Linked DNA regions of Homo sapiens: region 2 is linked to region 1. The links are contacts of gene promoters, found by promoter capture Hi-C in human tissues and cell types (Jung and others, 2019). All regions are on one chromosome and are shown on one strand. Each heading gives the region's core, a stretch centred on a gene start or on the middle of the fragment in contact. The rest is flanking DNA. Distances are from core to core; before and after follow the strand shown. Region 1 holds the start of HMCN1 (hemicentin 1). Region 2 overlaps HMCN1 (hemicentin 1).

What was found. The method cuts DNA at HindIII sites, captures the fragments that hold promoters and counts their contacts. A contact is called where the count stands out against the background at its distance.
Region 2: a contact is called between a fragment that was not itself captured here and the fragment with the promoter of HMCN1 in region 1, in 1 of the 25 tissues and cell types used here (mesenchymal stem cells).

The regions. Positions count from the first base shown.
Region 1 is chr1:185,732,686-185,735,864 of GRCh38, forward strand. HMCN1 (hemicentin 1) reads left to right here and starts at 1,706. Exons shown (of 107, transcript NM_031935.3): 1 at 1,706-2,362. The coding sequence starts at 2,095. The HindIII fragment of the contact is 9,057 bases long and covers 1-3,179 here.
Region 2 is chr1:186,114,341-186,117,550 of GRCh38, forward strand. It overlaps HMCN1 (hemicentin 1), which reads left to right. Exons shown (of 107, transcript NM_031935.3): 74 at 479-606; 75 at 918-1,074; 76 at 2,654-2,775; 77 at 3,119-3,210. Among named protein-coding and RNA genes, the nearest start is that of PRG4, 180 kb to the right of the region's middle. The HindIII fragment of the contact is 5,610 bases long and covers 1-3,210 here.

The DNA of each region.
Region 1 (3,179 bases), core at 456-2,955:
ATAGAAGATTGGAACATTATTAAACAACTTGACCTAATTAACATTTATAGAACATTCCACCCAACAGCATTCTTTTCAAGTGCACATGGAACATTTATAGATCATTTAATCCTTATTAGGTGGGTGCTATCATTATTCCCATTTACAGCTGAGTAAACACAGGTCTGAAAAAGTTTGGTAACCTTCTTGAAGGTCACACAGTTAAATGTCACAGCTGGGCTTTCAACCCAGGGTATCTGACCCAGAACTCTTAATCACTAGGCTCTGTGGCCTCCCTTGAGCACCTGGAATAGCTCAGGTCTCTAAGACTTAGAATGAAATCCTTTTTAAATAAACAACGGAATGGGAGACTCAAATAGCATTCTCTAAATACTGCTTGAGAAGGAAGTACCTTCCCCCTTTCCTCTCATATTCCCACTCAGCCCAAATGGCCTGTCTGCTTCCTTTAAGTGACATGACTTATAGGTATCATAAACTCGGGTTCCACAGCCGCTGGGACTGAAAGAGAAGACAGTTGTAGATTACAAAAGGTTGGTGGGAGCTAACTCTTCCTCAGGCTGCATCTCCGTTGGGTGGGCGGTCTAATATACATCCAAACAGAGATCAAGATGCCTGTTTGCCCCTCTTTAAATGCTGGGATCTGGACAACAACTCCTTTTCCAGGAAGGAAATGCGTTTTTATTAAAATGACATAAAGAATCCTTAGTTCATGGTAGACTTTCTTTGCTTATCCTCTTATCTCTGTTATTAGTACTATAACGTATATAGCAATCACAACACGGAAAAACGTTGGCATGTCTTCCAGGGTGAGGTTTCCTTCTTGACTGGCAAGAAAATGCCATAGAGGGGAGCACCTTTCCAATAGATCTTTGGCTGAGACCTGAGGCATGACTGTTCCAGGGGAGGAAATCTGAAACGGGGATATTATTCTGCCTTACTATGCTGAGCGTAGGATTCAAACTGCTCAGCAAATGTGAATCTTGATAATACAATTAAAAAATCAATTTTCTCTTTAATATGAATTTTATGTCTCATCTTTCCCCACACCTCTCTCGCCCCTCCTCCTTGTCCTTTCTACGGGGCTTCCATCCTGTATTCACATTCCCCTCTACAGTTAGTGACTACCTAGTTCTTGTCTCTCATTTCCCTCAGCAGCCCCTTTCCTCTTCCTGGGCTTCTTGCCCCTTCAGCGTTGTCCTCCCTTCCTTCCCTGCAGTCCAGAGTCTCAGAGGAGATCAAAGAGCGATAGTGTGGCTGCCTCGCAGCTGAGAGAATTTTCCAGCTCCCCCTCCTGGCTGGGCCGAGTTGTGGGCTGAGAGGCAGGAGGCTGGGCTGGGGCGTCTTGACTTTTGGGGGGAATTAGGAAAGAGGTGTCTAAAGCCGCGTTGTACACAATAGAAAAACAAAATTCCCTTTGTGCTAGTGTGGTGTCCCTCGGTTTGGGTCTTTGCCACACATTCTTGAAAGCCATTGTTTACACTAGCGTTTTGCAGGTTAGGAACGGTGCCGGTGGGAACCGAGCTGACACCGTAAGCGCTTCCCTGGGACTGAATTGACCCTACAATCAGTGGAGGGAAAAGTCACCCTCCGGGGGGGCCTCCAGAGCAAAGGAGGGAGGACGGCAACTGGCCAATCAGGAGGCGAGGCCGAGCCAGGCTTCCCCTCGTCGCTCGTGAGCTGCAAACAGTGGAAAGTTGGGAACCTCAGTCGCTGGCCCAGGCGGAGAGCAGCGGCGGCGGCGAGGGCAGCGGGATTCGGGCCGCGGCGCCGCAGGCTCAGAGCTGCCCCCGGGGCATGGACCCGACGCGCCGCCCGCACTCCGCCACAGGCTGTCCAGGGCCCGCGGGCAGATAGCAGTCCAGGAGGAAGCCGCATCCAGACAAAAGCTGCCGCATCCCTGCCCTGCCCAACCCCTGGAGGGATTCGAGTTTGGTGCTTGTCCCCGTCTGATTCTCAGCGCCAAACTTTTTGCTAGTTCAGAGATTCCAAGAGTCTGATGAGTTACTCTGAGAGGAAACCCTCTGCCTGTTGTTGAGGAGGACTGAGCACAGTGCTTAGGCGCTGAGGGGGAAAAAGAGGGGGAAAAAAAAGAAAATGATTTCCTGGGAAGTTGTCCATACAGTATTCCTGTTTGCTCTTCTTTATTCTTCCCTAGCTCAAGATGCGAGCCCCCAGTCAGAGATCAGAGCTGAGGAAATTCCCGAGGGGGCCTCCACGTTGGCTTTTGTGTTTGATGTGACTGGTTCTATGTATGATGATTTAGTTCAGGTGATTGAAGGGGCTTCCAAAATTTTGGAGACGTCTTTGAAAAGACCTAAAAGACCTCTTTTCAACTTTGCGTTGGTGCCTTTCCATGATCCAGGTAAGGGAAATATTTATACTTTGTCTTTGCTATGTCTCATGATTACATTATTTCTCATGCTGTGAATGAAATTGTTTGTCAGGAAGTTTCAAAACCATTTTAAAAAAATGTGCAGCTGAAAATAGTTGTAACAAAGAATTACTTGCTGGCGTCTGGGTTTGCTCATTGATACCTACTTAAGTCTCAGCCCTGGTGGAGATGGCTTGTTTAGGGAACTTGTACTGTGGTCCTCAAACCTGGAAATGTGGAGTTACGAAAAACAAAACCAAAAATCTTGGGCAACGACATCAAAATCACTTAACTCACTTAGATTTTAGAACTAAAGCATGTTTAATTACGAAGGCAGACTTGGACACGAATTTATAGCAGCGAAGCTCTAGGGGCTAACATCCAGATTGAAAGCACACTCTGAGGGTAACTCTCATTTAAGAGGGGAAAAAACCTGTTGTGTGAGACACAAGGAAGCCTGTAAGTAGTAACTACTAGTGGAACTGAAGACATGAAAAGAAAAGAGAGAAACCAATCATTTCTTAACTGAATCTATTCATCTTTGCACCAGGGCATCATTAGATAGGTTCACAGATGGGTATAAACATTACATCCATGTCTCCTGCGGTAGAATTGCTTGTAATTCGGAATGTCTGTGCTTTTTAAAGGTAGTTGAAGTGAAATAACTTCATTTTTGCCCTAAAGCCGTAGGTTTCAGCAGCTCCACTGTAATATGATCCTATTTACTTTTTTCAGTTTCTCTTTAAAGTAGCACCTCTCTGTGAGGCTTATAGGAGCCCCCATTGCCATAGCTGAGGGTAGCCTTGCA
Region 2 (3,210 bases), core at 308-2,807, 380 kb after region 1:
CCACCTCCTGGGTTCAATTGATTCTCCTGCCTCAGCCTCCCAAGTAAGCTGAGATTAAAGACGCACGCCAGCACGCCCAGCTAATTTTTTGTATTTTTAGTAGAGATGGGGTTTCACCAGGTTGGCCAGGCTGGTCTCGAACTCCTGACCTCAGGTGATCCGCCCACCTCAGCCTTCCACAGTGCTGGGATTACAGCCTTGAGCCTTCACTCCAGGCCCAAATTTAGTATTTTAAAAGCATAATCCCTAAGGCTTATGTCTACATAATGATTATAATCCATTAAAGATCACAAGCCCATCTGTTATGCACCTTTGCATCGTAGCCTTTTCTTCCACCAAGGGTATCATAAACATGTGTCATCTGAAACAGGAAAAATACTGAATGGATTTCACCAAGTGTTTAACATTTCCCTCAGTCAAAATATGAACAATCAAAAAAGGCTGATTCAGAAGACTTCACTTGTGATTTCTCTTGTAGATATTCCATCTTGGAAAATGGATTCCTTCATATTCAATCAGCACATGTCACTGACACTGGACGGTATTTGTGTATGGCCACCAATGCTGCTGGAACAGATCGCAGGCGAATAGATTTACAGGTCCATGGTAAATATCCGTTTATAGACAACATCCGGTCTCTGTGTCAAATGCTCTTTGATTGCCTAAACTAGTGAGGTCATAAAGATCTTGACATTGAAGGCTAGTTAAGCAATTTACATTATGGTATGAATAGCAAGCCCCAAGTTTTCTCCTTAGTATAGTTAATATCATCACAGCACTATTAAAATTTGCAGAGTCTTGTTTGCTCATAACTATGAGGCAAGTTAATAATGACTAATTTCAGTTCAGCAGAAATATTTCAAATGGCACGCTATTTGCTGACTGTGTTTCCTTCTTATTTGGTGACATTGTCTTAGTTCCTCCATCTATTGCTCCGGGTCCTACCAACATGACTGTAATAGTAAATGTTCAAACTACTCTGGCTTGTGAGGCTACTGGGATACCAAAACCATCAATCAATTGGAGAAAAAATGGGCATCTTCTTAATGTGGATCAAAATCAGAACTCATACAGGTAAGGATAATTTAAAACTCCTACCAACTATTTACAAACAGTTTGTAATGAATCAACATTTTAATTCTATCAGTGGGGTCAGCAAATATATAGACTATAACAAATTAGCTAGCATATAGAGGGTTTTTTTCCTTAATATGGACTTAGTTTTTCAGCCTAAAATATTTTTCTGAATTATAGGTCATCTTTTCCATACATAAACCCTGTGGATGAATGTCAGTGATTATATATAGGATTAGATTTATATCCTGCCTTATTTGTTTAGTACCTTTTGGACTTTTATAAAGGCAAAGGATAAAAACATCATTTTATATAAAAGAAAAACTATTCTGTAAAAATAAATACGATCTTTAGTTGTAGAATAAAAGTCAAATTTTATACCTTAAAATACAATTTAGATATTGGCAGAATGTGTAGGGAGGAAAAACAGCATTTTCTCCATTTTTTTTTTTTGCTTTTTTCCAAGCTTTAATACCATAGCTCATAATATGGCAATATCTATTTTTCAAAGGCTAAACTTTAAATCACTAAGAATTTCTGATGTTATAGGTGAGCATCATTTTTTGTATCTCACCTGAGCTATCAGATTATTACTCTGTCAAACATTTGCCATAGCGCTAAAAATAAATGCTCTCTTATGTCCACTTTAACAAAAATCAATTCCAATACATCAGGAAATATAAAACTAGGAGTGCTGCAGTTGAAATTCTATCATGTCTCTTTTTCACCCTTTTAATCTTTTGGCATTGGGAGGTTCAGTGACTTGAAAGTATACACTGTATGGAAAATGTGCCATGCTTTTGAATTAAAAGGTGTGTCAAATATGTTTTATTAATGTTTTTTATTAAATCATTTCTATCATGCACAGTGTGAAATCAAATAGATATTCTAATTTAGATTTACTTTAAATCATGTATGTGTATTTACTAAACCTCCTAAAATGTGAAGTGTTCTAGATTTTAGTTTTGAATATATATACACACATACACACACTTGTTCAAAACTAAATATATATATATATACTTTTTTTGAAATAGATATTGCCATATTATCTACAAGGTAGCCACACATTTAAGGAGACATGCAAAGTACATAAAGGGGTGAGACACACAGACTTGTCATTAGCCATCTGTCAATGGAAATAAACAAATATCAACCTGCTAGGTTATTGTGAAATTTAAAGATAATTTATGCAAAGCATTTAAGATGGTGCCTGGAGTGTATCTGATGCCCAGTAAACAGTGGCTGTTATCAGTGTTCTCATTGTACTGTATTTCTCCTAGGAGAGCCAGGTTGATCATAATATAAGCATTTAGAGAATGTAAGATTCCCTCTTCAGACAATCCTTCCCACAATTACTTCCTGTAAATATTATATCAAGTTTGAGGCTCTAGAAAGCCACTGCCATACAAACATAAACTCTAATGCATAAAGTTGGCCTCAGGGACATGATGTTAATTTTAACATGAGGGAAGAGTACTGTTTTCATCAATTTACAACATGGTACCATGTTAAACTAGCTGGGAAAATTTATGAAAACCTACATATAGTATCTCATGCTTTGAAATGTGTCTTCTAGGCTCCTTTCTTCAGGTTCACTAGTAATTATTTCCCCTTCTGTGGATGACACTGCAACCTATGAATGTACTGTGACAAACGGTGCTGGAGATGATAAAAGAACTGTGGATCTCACTGTCCAAGGTAGAATTGGCTTGGAACATGGATTGAAACATGATAATGCTATCACTTCGTTATTCTACTACTTTACAAAAGGGATCCCTTTTCTTTTTTTTTTTAAACATTTATTTTAAGTTCAGGGGTACACATGCAGGTTCGTTATATGGGTAAACTAGTGTCATGGGGGTTTGTTGTACAAATTACTTCATCACCCAGGTATTAACCCAGAAATAAAAGGAGGAATCCCTTTTCTACTTACCTAACTTTCACTTTCAGAGCAAAAAGAGGATGTATGATAAGTCTTTGGAAATCTTTAAGGGCTGGAAATGTGTAGTTTTTTCCCTTTTTGTTGTTGTTGTTGTTTTAGTTCCACCTTCCATAGCTGATGAGCCTACAGATTTCCTAGTAACCAAACATGCCCCAGCAGTAATTACCTGCACTGCTTCGGGAGTTCCATTT